Regions from separate parts of the Homo sapiens genome. Here regions 2 and 3 are each linked to region 1. Evidence: promoter capture Hi-C in 16 types of primary human blood cells and fetal thymus (Javierre and others, 2016). All regions are on one chromosome and are shown on one strand. Each heading gives the region's core, a stretch centred on a gene start or on the middle of the fragment in contact. The rest is flanking DNA. Distances are from core to core; before and after follow the strand shown.

Region 1 (3,752 bases), core at 506-3,005:
GCGTAAGCCACTGCGCCCAGCCCAAGGACTAAATCTTAATGACTATGCTATCAATTTAAAGATCAAAAATGTCATGGAGGCCAGGTGTGGTGGCTCACGCCTGTATTCCCATCATTTTGGGAAGCCAAAGCGGTGGATCACTGAGGTCTGGAGTTTAAGACCAGCCTGGCCAACATGGTGAAATCCCGTCTCTACTAAAAATACAACAATCAGCTGTGTGAAGTGGTGGGCACCTGTAATCCCCAGCTACTTGGGAGGCTAAGGCAGGAGAATCGCTTGAACCTGGGAGGCGGAGATTGCAGTGAGCCAAGATCGTGCCACTGCACTCCAGCCTGGGTGACAGAGCAAGACTCTAAAAAAAAAAAAAAAAAAAAAAGAGTCATGGAACAGATACTCTTCAGTTACATACTATGTAAAACAATATACCGTTTTTTTCAAAAAGTGATATATAAAAGTTACAACATGGATCTTTACCTGGGTCACAATCTTCTATGGCTTCCCATATGTCTTCTATAACTAAGGATAACAAGTTTATCAAAACAAAACCAAGAAGCCTAAAATATACGATTACACAACCAATATATGCTTTATTTTGAAAGCTGTCATTTTCTCCTTAGAGATTATTTGGTCTTCAATCAAGAACTATGGGGGCGATTTAACTGGAAAAAGTCTGTTTTTAAAAAAGTTTTACACATAATAGTGTGTTTTATTAAAAATTGAAACCGCTTAAACCGCTGATTGCTACCATTCTTGCTTTGACAAAACTATCCCAAGCTAACACGTTGAACTGGTCAAGACTCAACTCTCAATCATTTTACATAGTTTTGGAAAATTACAACAAAACATAACAAAAGCCATTCCACTCTGGTGTGAGGTGCCACGTTTGAAGTAATTATATAAATAAATCATGGCTTTAAAATACAAAATGCTTAACTGCTTTTTTAAAAATTGAAAAAAAAAACACTAGTCTTGAGCCGTGAAGATCATAAATTAAGCTCAAAGCAAATAAATACGCGTTATAAGAAGCATACACTTAAAAGTAGTTACTCTTAGAAAATCCCTGAAATGGTAATGGTATGTATTTCACCTGGGGCAGTAAGGGACTGGTATTTTCGCTTCTTTTCTGGAGAATACAAAACTGAAAAGGCCACACTCTCTGCGGGTCGGCAAAAGAAAGGCTAAGACTGGAGGATCCCTAGATTGGGACAGGAGTAGAGGATTGCCTCAGATCTACAACTAAGTATGATCCCTTGTTTGTGTTTATAAAAACAAACGAAAAACTACACTGCCCCACAGACAGCTCCAAACTCAGTGGAAGAGAGGAGGGCGGGTGGGCGGCAGGTGTCAGGTAGCCTCCGCTCCACGCCTTTGTTGACTGTCGCCGTCCCCCACCCTCCCAGCTCCCGTACGGGGATTCCCGCACCAGGCGACAGGCGCCTCGGGGCGGGGTTCTGAGGAGGTCGCTAAGGACTGCACCGGGGCTTCCGGCCCGTCTGGGAAGCTTGCTTGGCTGGGCCGGGACGGACTCGACAGGGCGCGGAAGGGAGCGGTGGGCGCGCCCTGGGAGGCGAGCGCGTCGCAGCCTCACCTTGGACACCATTTTCTTGAGCTGGCTCTCCGACACCGCCATGACGGCCGCCTGGCGACTCCCTTCCCCGCAGGCAGAGGGTCAGCCGCTGCTGGGCTGCCCCAGACCGTCCCACACAATCGCACACCCCCAACCCGGCCTCAAACAACAGGAAGTCGGCACCACTACACCACTTCCGCTTCCACTACGTCACTTCCGGGCCGCCGTCCTGCGGGCAAGGGTGGACACCGTGTGGGATTGAGAGGGGCCTGGTGGGGTGGGTTCCAACCAACCCGCCCCTCGAGTGCCGGAATCAGCAGGACGAATCGGGTCCCAAAGATGTGGGCAAGACTGTTCCGAGGGTCGAAACTCTGGTTCAGGATAAGATTAGCAGGTATTTCACAGAGTCGACTTAAGGAAGCTAGTGCCGGAGAGGGAAGAAGTACGAAGGGCTTGCCAGTGAGCCTTAATGACTGATTGATCAAGTGGGAGGGCACTGCACTGGCGGTCAGAGAACTGTTCTGTCACTGACTTGCTCTTGTGATAATGGTAGGCTAGTGCATTTCTAGCTCAGGCGCAAATTTCTCCCGACTCTAAAGTCATACACTTGCCTTAGATGATGCCCAGTGGTCCTCTAATTAATGATTTTTTTTAAGCTTAAAGACCTTCATACTATACGTTGGCAAGGGTAAAGTGTAGAGCCTTTGTTTCACAAGAAGCCAGATAGTAATTTCTTCTCCAGGAAATCATTCCGTAAGTCAGAATTTCTCCTCTGTACCCACCCATAAATGATAATACAGGCCGTATTTTACCTGGTGCTGTATTTGTGTACCTGTCCGCTGTCAAAATCCAAGCCCTTGAAGGCAGGCTTCCTTCAGATCTTCATTGCCTTGCACAATGCAAGGGTAGGTACTTCCATCTTAATTGAATTTTTACTTCCCATAAAAATTCTTCATGGTGACTTACATTAGTCATCATTACACATCACCGTCAGTTTTGTAAGCACAGTGTCATTCAAGGTATTGTAAAATTTTGAGTTTGATGATGTGTGACAGTTTCAATTATTTTAGTACAGCCCTAATGAGAACAAGGCCGTAGTATTGATTCCCTTCAAAGTTGGCGTCTAAGTGAAGGTCACATTCACAAGGAGGGCCTAACTGAAAGCATGTGGAAGCATCATTATAAACTGTTGCTAACACGCACAAATAAAGGCTATTAATAGGTATTGTTTTTCTTTTTCTTTTTCTTTTTTTTTTTTTTTTGAGTCACTCTCACTCCATCGCCCAGGCTGGAGTGCAGTAGCACCATCTCGGCTCACTGCAACCTCCGCCTCTGTTTTTCAGCTCCTTAGTTAAGCATACAGCTCCAGTCAAACCAAACTAGAGGTCTGTCTGTCCTTCCATTTTACTTGCTGTTTTATGTCTTTTAAAAGCAAGAAGGTTTTCAAACTGTTCTTAAAGCCACGGCTTAACCAGGAGTCCCTTTAATTAGAGCAACTGTACCTTTGTGAGTTGGAGGAATGCCAGGTAATATATATTATTTATATATTTTATAAATGCAACATTTATAAATATTAAAATAAATTTTACATATATATATATATATATATATATATATATATATATTTTTTTTTTTTTTTTTTTTTTTTTTTTTTGAGACAGAGTTTTGCTCTTGCTTCCCAGGCTGGAGTGCGATAGTGTGATCTTGGCTCACTGCAACCTCTGCCTCCCGGGTTCAAGCGATTCTCCTGCCTAAGCCTCCCGAGTAGCTGGGATTACAGGTGCCCACCACCACACCCAGCTAATTTTTTGTATTTTTAGTAGAGACAGGATTTCACTATGTTGGCCAGGCTGGTCTGGAACTCTTGACCTCAGGTGATCCACCCGCCTCAGCCTGCCAGAATGTTGGGATTACAGGCGTAAGCCACTGCGCCCAGCCCATTTATATATTTTTGTTGCCCAGGTCATGGTGCAGTGATGTGAACATGGCCCACTGCAGCCTCGACCTCCCTGGCTCAAGTGATCCTCCTGCCTCAGCCTCCCATGTATATTGGGACCACATGCGTGTGCCACCATGCCCAGCTAATTTTTAATTTCTTTGTAAAGATGAGGTCTTACTTTGTTGCCCAGGCTGGCCTCAGAACTCCTGGGCTCAGGTGATCCTCCCACCTTAGCCTCCCAAAGTG
Region 2 (3,752 bases), core at 407-2,906, 170 kb after region 1:
CAGCACAAGGCTCAGGACCAGCACAAGGGCCTGTGTCACCATGCCAGGATGTTTGAAACTCCTTTTTGGCTGCTAATTAGGGCTGGTCACCCCTTTCCCATCAATTCCCAAAGCCTGACACACAGCTACTGCCCTTCTACAGTAGCTTACAGACTACTTGCCCATCCTTTGAGATACAGCTGAAATCTCCATCTCCAGGATTGCTAGACTTAAATTTCCTAAAACCAGCAGCCCTTCCTCTTCCCCAACCTACACATGTCAGAGTTGGGTGGAACCTTAGAACTCACCCGCTCATCTTCTAAGTGAGGAAATCAAGACCAGAGAGGGGAAGTGATTCACCCAATCTAACAGCATGGAAGTGGCAAAACTGGGACTAGATTTCAGTCCATCTGGCCACCTACCTCTCCATGTAATTCCAATGATTCTGAACATGCACCGCTCTGAATGAGCTTGTGTTCCTTTAGTCTACGTAAAATCAACATTAAATCCACTTGGGACGTATTTTTGGCAAAGTTAGCTCACGCTTCTTTGGGTCTGCCTGTCTGTCATTCTTGGGGTGCTCTTGTATGTGTGGCAGTGGTCTCTGAGTTGTAAGAGGTGTGTGCCTACGGCCAATTATCTGTGTTTGTTTCTATATTAGGGTCATGGGTCTACGAGCTGCTGTAGAGTCCCTGTATATGTCTCTTTTCTTACATGGAGCATATATGTCAATTTGTGGTTGTTGGTTTTGGATCTGTGTACTTGTTGAGTGCTTAAGGGTAATTATGATTCTGTATGTGTGATGTATATGCTACGATTATGGGTCCATGGCTGCTGCATACCTATATACGTGCCGCTTTTCAAGTCGAAGGTTGTGTGTTTGCTGATGATTTGGATGTGTGTTTGTACACAGTGAAGGTTGTGAGTCCAATTGCAATCGTATCGGCGTGGACTGCATGTTTAAAGGCTTAAGGGAATCTGTCTTTGCCTTTTGCTCCCGGGTTATGAGAAAATGTATGTGGCTGTGCGTCCAGGACAGCAATGTGTTTGTCTCTCAGCCAAGCTCAGTCCTCACCCAGGCACCGGGGTCACGGTCACGTTCACGTTCCGTGGACGCCTTGGCACGGCCTCCCAAGGGGGCGGGGCCTGGGGGGTATCCGCCTTCTGACCCCTGGGAGATGCCTCCTTTCTCCGAGCAGCAGCCGGGGGCCTGGCCGGCGCCGCCAGCCGGGCCCCGCCCCCCCGGCTCCCGCCCGCTCATTGGCCCTGGCAGCGGTGACGTCACGGGGCTAGCTGACAGAACCCCGGCGCCGGGCGCTCGGGAGGTATTGTCCGTCCCTCCGGGCTTTGTAGAATCGTCGCCGGCTTACCTGGCCGTGGGCGCGTCCTGGCCGCTGCAGCCCGGAGCAGGGTGCCAGCCGCCGCCGCCGCCGCCATGGTGTCCCCGGTCACTGTGGTGAGTGAGCGAGCGAGCGAGCCAGTGCCCGGCGCGGCTGGAGCCCACCGGCCTGGCCACCGGACTTCGGCAGGCCGAGCTGCCGAAGGGGCCGAGGCGGGGCGGGGGTCCCGTGGCGGCCGGAGTCCCGCGGCGGGAGGCGGGCGCTGTCACCGCCCCCCGCTCCTCAGACTCGCGGCGCCCCTCCTCGCGCGCCCCCAGCCCGCCCGCGGAGGGAGGAAAACACTGGCCACGTGACTCGGAAGCGTGACTTTGTTGATCTCCATGTATTTGGCGCGGGTCGGCGGGGTCGCGGCCCGGGAGAGGGAGGGGACCGCTGCCGGCCGCAGAGTTCCGCGTAGGCGGACCACAGGGAGGCGTGGGGGCGGGGGATGCTGGGAGGATAACAGGGACCTCCTGGGAATGCCGTCCCAAGTTTGTTTCCTAACCTTCCTCATTTTGTAAACAAGTTGGCGGACGCCCCTGAGTCTAAGAAGCGCTGATAACGCGCTGGGGGAAAAGGGGGCATTCTCTATGACATCCCCTGCTTTTCAGACTTTCTCAACTTGAACCTTTTGTTTCGTCTCCCCATCCTCCTTATTCTACTACTGGGTTCCCTATAACTGTCAGGGTCTCTCCAGCTACTGCCAGTATCTCCTTCTAGAAAATATGGGGCTGGGAGAGGCCATGGAGCGGAGGTTAATGCTCCCAGGGGCTGGCAGGTGGTTGCTGGGCATTGTGGGCCTGGGCATCCCCTCCAGCCGCCTCCTCTGACCATGCCCCTACCCTGACCAGCCTTAATTTCCATGGGAAGTGGAAGTCATCTCTTCTCACTGCTCTTACCTCTGGCAGAACAAGGAAAGGCTTGGACCCTGGAACCACCCATCCGCCTCTTCCCAATCCTCCTCATCACAGTCTGATCAGTCCTTAGGTACCTGGTCGTCTGGACTCTGAGTGTTTCCCAAGTCCTGTGCTGGGCAGCTCACCTAGCCAGAGACACAATCGCTTTGGGCAGAGTGTGGGTGTACAGGGAACTCCAGCTGCTCCATATCACCCTCAATGGATCTGTTAGCAGCCCAAGGAAAGGAGTTTCAAGGATCACAGATTCAGAACATCGCTGCAGCCCCCTCCCCCAGCTTGGACTCTGCCTGCAGTGGCCTTGGGTACAACCTTTCTTTAGCTGCCCTCTGCTAATCCGGCTGAGACCAAGTCAGCTGCTCTAACTTCCCCCTCTCAGTTCCCCATCTCCCAGCCTGTCTGCTGGCTCCAGATCAGAAGCTGGGAATAGAACCTCTCCCCCCTTTCCTGCCTCTTTCTGGTGTGGCTTGAGTTGCTCTTGTTCTCTGGGAAATGAGGCTGACTGACACACACCCTCCCTTCCCCCAATCCTTGAAATCTTTGGTGTTTGAAGGACAATTTTCTTGCTCCCAACTCATGGGTCCATTTATCTAGCCAGCATCCCTAGCATAGCCCTCCTTGCCCTTGATGCCACCTTCAGGCTGGGGCAGGTGGAGTGGAGGCTGAGGAACAGACTGGTTGAGGAGGAGAGAGGCTGTGGTGGCTGAGGTGATTGCCATTGCCTGCTTTCCCACATTCCTGGCACACACCTGGTGTTGCCAGGGCCCTAAGGCTGCACCCTGGCCCCATGCTGAGGATCACGAGTTGGCCAGTCAGGGTGTCTCTGTGGTTTCCCACTGACTTCACTCCATTCCAGAGTGAACAGCTGGGGGCTGTTGCTGGCAGAGAGGAGGGGCTAAAGGGGCCCTGAGGAGGGAGAAGGAGGGGGCAGGAAGGGAGAAGCACACTAGGCTGCAGAAGGGTGCCCCTCCTAATATACTGAGCCTCAGGGCAGTAATGGGTTTGGCCACAACCTGCTGGCTGGTAGAGGCAGGCCAGGCTGGGTTTCTCTGTGTCAGTCTTCTCAGGTTGGGGGTGGAAGTGAGGTGGGGGTATGGATGGGAGTGTCTCTGGGGTGGATGCCTAGGCTGAGGGTGCTGGCTTTCAACCCCCAAGTTCTGAGTGCTGCCCTTGTCCTGTGTCCTCCAGGTGAAGAGTGAAGGACCCAAACTGGTGCCGTTCTTCAAGGCCACCTGCGTGTATTTTGTGCTCTGGCTGCCCTCATCTAGCCCATCGTGGGTCAGCACCCTCATCAAGTGCCTGCCTATCTTCTGCCTCTGGCTCTTCCTTCTGGCCCATGGCCTGGGATTCCTGCTGGCCCACCCCAGCGCCACCCGCATCTTTGTGGGGCTTGTCTTCTCTGCTGTAGGTGACGCCTTCCTCATCTGGCAGGACCAAGGATACTTCGTGCATGGTCAGTGGCCATAGTAGTTGCCTGGGA
Region 3 (3,752 bases), core at 940-3,439, 160 kb after region 1:
AAAGCAGAAAAAAAACCAAGCTGGTTCAAGCTGGGCTTGGTGGCTCATGACTGTAATCCCAGAGCCTTGAGAGGCTAAGGTGGGAGGATTGCTTGAGGCCAGGCGTTTGACACCAGCTAGGACAACATGGCAAGACTCTGTCTGTAAAAAAAGAAAAAAAAATTGACTGGTTATGGAAATCCCAAAAGGTGGTTATGACTGCTTTTTTTTTTTTTAGACGGAATCTCGCTCTGTCTCCCAGACTGGAGTACAGTGGTACAGTCTCAGCTCACTGCAACCTCCGCCTCCCAGGTTCAAACGATTCTCCTGCCTCAGCCTCCTGAGTAGAAGGCGGGTGCCCGCCACCACGCCTGGCTAATTTTTGTATTTTTATTAGAGACGGGGTTTCACCATGTTGGCCAGGCTGGTCTCAAACTCCTGACCTCAGGTGATCCACCCACCTCAGCCTCCCTAAGTGCTGGGATTACAGGCGCAAGCCACTGCACCCGGCCTATGACTGCTTTCAATGCAGTCTCACTTCCACAGTGTGAGCGTTTGCTCGGCTGGCTCTGCTGCAGCAGGTGGAGGTCACTTAAAACATTTCCCAGTACAACGGAAGTTTAGGTGCTTGTTGCAGGGGCTGTGTGTGTGTGTGTGTGTGTGTGTGTGTGTGTGTGTGTGTCTAGTAATAAGCAGAAAGGTCGATTTTTCACTTCTAGACGGATGGGGAACCTCTCTGCATCCTCACCTTGAGGTTGGGAGCCATCAGGGCTTGGGATAGGGAAAGGAATATGGTCACAATTCCAGCTTTTTTGTTTACTGTTTAAACCCTATTGTAATACATGAGTGTTATACACTCCCAAAGCCCCGTCTTCTCTGAATGGGAGGCAGGAAGCCAAGGAAAGGGTTGGGAGAGGGCCGAGGTAACACAAATCAAATAACTCTCCTGACCACTGCACAGGGTGCCTCAACCTCATTGCCTTTTGCTCCGCTTCTGGTCTGTTGGGAGGAATCCCCCTGAAGGCCTGGCAAGCTCTCGCTGTCCCTGCCCATTTTTCTGGTCTTGCGAGATTGTAGGAGAGCGAGGCAGGGTGGAGGAGGGAAGCTGAGGCCGTGGTCATTGTGTCAGCCTCTCCTGCCAGCTGGTGGGCTCCATGAAGACAGGGAAGGTCTTTGTTCATGTCTATGTCCCAGATACACCCTGGCCTGTTGTAAGTGGGTGATAAATACCAGTTACATTAATTATATAGATATATATTTTTGAGACGGAGTTTTGCTCTTGTTGCCCAGGCTGGAGTGCAATGGCGCAATCTCAGCTCACTGAAACCTCCGCCTCCTGGGTTCAAGCGATTCTCCTGCCTCAACTTCCTGAGTAGCTGGGATTACAGGTATGCACCACCATGTCCAGCTAATTTGTATTTTTAGTAGAGATGGGGTTTCGCCATGTTGATCAGGCTGGTCTCCAACTCCTGACCTCGGGTGATCTGCCCGCCTCGGCCTCCCAAAGTGCTGGGATTACAGGCATGAGCCACTGTGCCTGGCCTAGTAACATGAATTAATTATTATATCTGAGGGAGGCTAACTAGACGAAAGGTCTGGGGAGATGCGTGTCTGGGAAGATGGGGTCTCTGAGAGAAAGCGATAGGGAGGTCTGCTTTGCCCTGTTATCCCAAGACTGGTCCTCAGGCATTGATGCTGAGGACAGAATTATTAATTCAGGGTCCTGGGGCTTGGTGGGTGGGATCTTCTAGGTTTTTTTTTCTTTCCCTTAAAGACCATTCTCCTGCGCAATCCCCAGACACTTCTTTCTTATTTCTACTTCGTCCTACTAACTTCCCAACATGGAGGAAAAAGCAGCTCAACGGTGCACCCTCGAGAGCTTCAGGTCTGGATGGGGTGGGGGTAAAAGGGACTGGAGTCAGTGAGAGGGCTATACTCAGAGACCACAACACAAGGACTTCATAAAAACACTTGGACCTCACAGAGTTTGCAACTCTGAAACTTGGGTGTTGGTGGTCATCTAATCCCACACACCTCACTGAGAGGGATTTATCCTGGGGCATCCCTGGTATTGAACCCTGTTAGAAGACTCTTGGTTTGGCAGCTTTATAGTTAGAGAAATCCACTTGTGTCTCAAGGCCTGATGATGCCCCCATCAATATGTCAGAAGCATTTGAATCAGAGTGACTCCATCTTGAATAGAGGCTGGGTAAAATAAAGCTGAGACCTACTGGGCTGCATTCCCAGGAGGTCAGACATTCTTAGTCACAGGATGGGATAGGAGGTTGGCATGTCTGGTATCACAAGATACAGGTCACAAAAGCACTGCTTATAAAAGAGGATGCAGTAAAGAAGCCAGCCAAGGCTGGGTGTGATGGCTCATGCCTGTAATCCCAGTACTTTGGGAGGCCGAGGTGAGTGGATCACTTGAGGTCAGGAGTTCAAGACTAGCCTGGCCAACATGGTGAAGCCCTGTCTCTACTAAAAATACAAAATTTAGCTGGGTGTGGTGGCAGGCACCTGTAATCCCAGCTACTTGAGAGGCTGAGGTGGGGGAATCACTTGAACCCAGGAGGTGGAGGTTGCAGTGAATTGAGATCACACCACTGCACTCTAGCCTGGGCAACAGAGTGAGACTCCGTCTCAAAAACATATATATAAATAAAGAAAAATGAGGAAAAAAGAAGAAGCCAGCCAAAACCCACTAAGACCAAAGATGGTAATGAAAGTGGCCTCTGGTTGTCCTCACTGCTCATTATAGACCATTTATAATATATTAGCATGCTAAAAGACACGCCCATCGTGCCATGACAATTTACAAATGCTATGGTAATGTCAGGAAATTACCCTATATGGTCTAAAAGAAATTGCCTGCCCCTTTCCTAGAAAACTTATGAATAATCCACCCCTTGTTTAGCATATAATCAATAAATAACCATAAGTATTCTCAGCTGAGCAGCTCATGCTACTGCTCTGCCTATGGAATAGCCATTCCTTTATTTTTTTAACTTTCCTAATAAACTTGCTTTCACTTTACTCTATGGACTCGCCTGAAATTCTTTCTTGCATGAAGTCTAAGAACCCTCTCTTGGGGTCTGGATCAGGACCCCTTTCTGGTAACATCTTCCTGGCAAACCATGAAGGGACTATACTGAAGAGACCCTTGACACAAAGGAAAATTGTCTGCGCAGCACCGATTGTCCGACTTTGGGTGAGTGGTGCGGTTCATTTTACCTGGGTAAAAAATGGGATTGGGTTTGAGGCCCAACTTAGGAAGGTTAGAGTTTTTCCTAATATTTAAGGGGTTAGAGGTCCCCCTTGGTAAAGTCCCTCTTGGTTAAAAATGAATTTGGCACTGTGGGATGTTAACCGCTATTCTCATTGAACTAATCTTCCTTGTACTCTTTGCTGACTATGGTGGGTGTCAGAATTTGGCACATACAGGATCACTGGACATGAGGAGCTTTTTTCTCCCCAAAGGGGCACAGTTGACAACTGAAGGGACTGCTGGTAAAGATCCCTTCACGATGTGTTGCTGCAATGGGTGAGTCTTTCTCTGCTCTCCCCAATGTTCTTGCCTTCCCCACCCCATCGCAGGCAATGCTTTTCTGTCTCTCTCTCTCCTTTCCATTTCTTCCCACCTTTTCTGTCACCCAGGGCAACTGTCCACTCTTCCATCTTGCCCAGAGACCACGTGTTGAAACTCCTGGTTGGAGGTCATTCCACCCTACTTTGAGTGGATCAAACATGACAGGGCCCAACCTGGGGCAAGT

Evidence for each region. The method cuts DNA at HindIII sites, captures the fragments that hold promoters and counts their contacts. A CHiCAGO score of 5 or more calls a contact.
Region 2: a contact is called between a fragment that was not itself captured here and the fragment with the promoter of TSG101 in region 1, in 10 of 17 cell types (fetal thymus, activated CD4 T cells, non-activated CD4 T cells and 7 more). The highest score is 13.0, in fetal thymus.
Region 3: a fragment that was not itself captured here is called in contact with the fragment with the promoter of TSG101 in region 1 in 1 of 17 cell types (activated CD4 T cells); the score reaches 5.5 in activated CD4 T cells.

Annotation. Positions count from the first base shown.
Region 1 is chr11:18,525,187-18,528,938 of GRCh38, forward strand. It overlaps TSG101 (tumor susceptibility 101), which reads right to left and starts at 1,756. Exons shown (of 10, transcript NM_006292.4): 1 at 1,589-1,756. The coding sequence starts at 1,630. RefSeq lists an enhancer at 1,916-2,025. The HindIII fragment of the contact is 722 bases long and covers 1,500-2,221 here.
Region 2 is chr11:18,697,473-18,701,224 of GRCh38, forward strand. TMEM86A (transmembrane protein 86A) reads left to right here and starts at 1,307. Exons shown (of 3, transcript NM_153347.3): 1 at 1,307-1,435; 2 at 3,461-3,725. The coding sequence starts at 1,415. RefSeq lists an enhancer at 1,014-1,515 and a silencer at 1,109-1,418. The HindIII fragment of the contact is 4,812 bases long and covers 1-3,752 here.
Region 3 is chr11:18,679,886-18,683,637 of GRCh38, forward strand. No RefSeq gene overlaps it. Among named protein-coding and RNA genes, the nearest start is that of TMEM86A, 17 kb to the right of the region's middle. The HindIII fragment of the contact is 4,681 bases long and covers 1-3,752 here.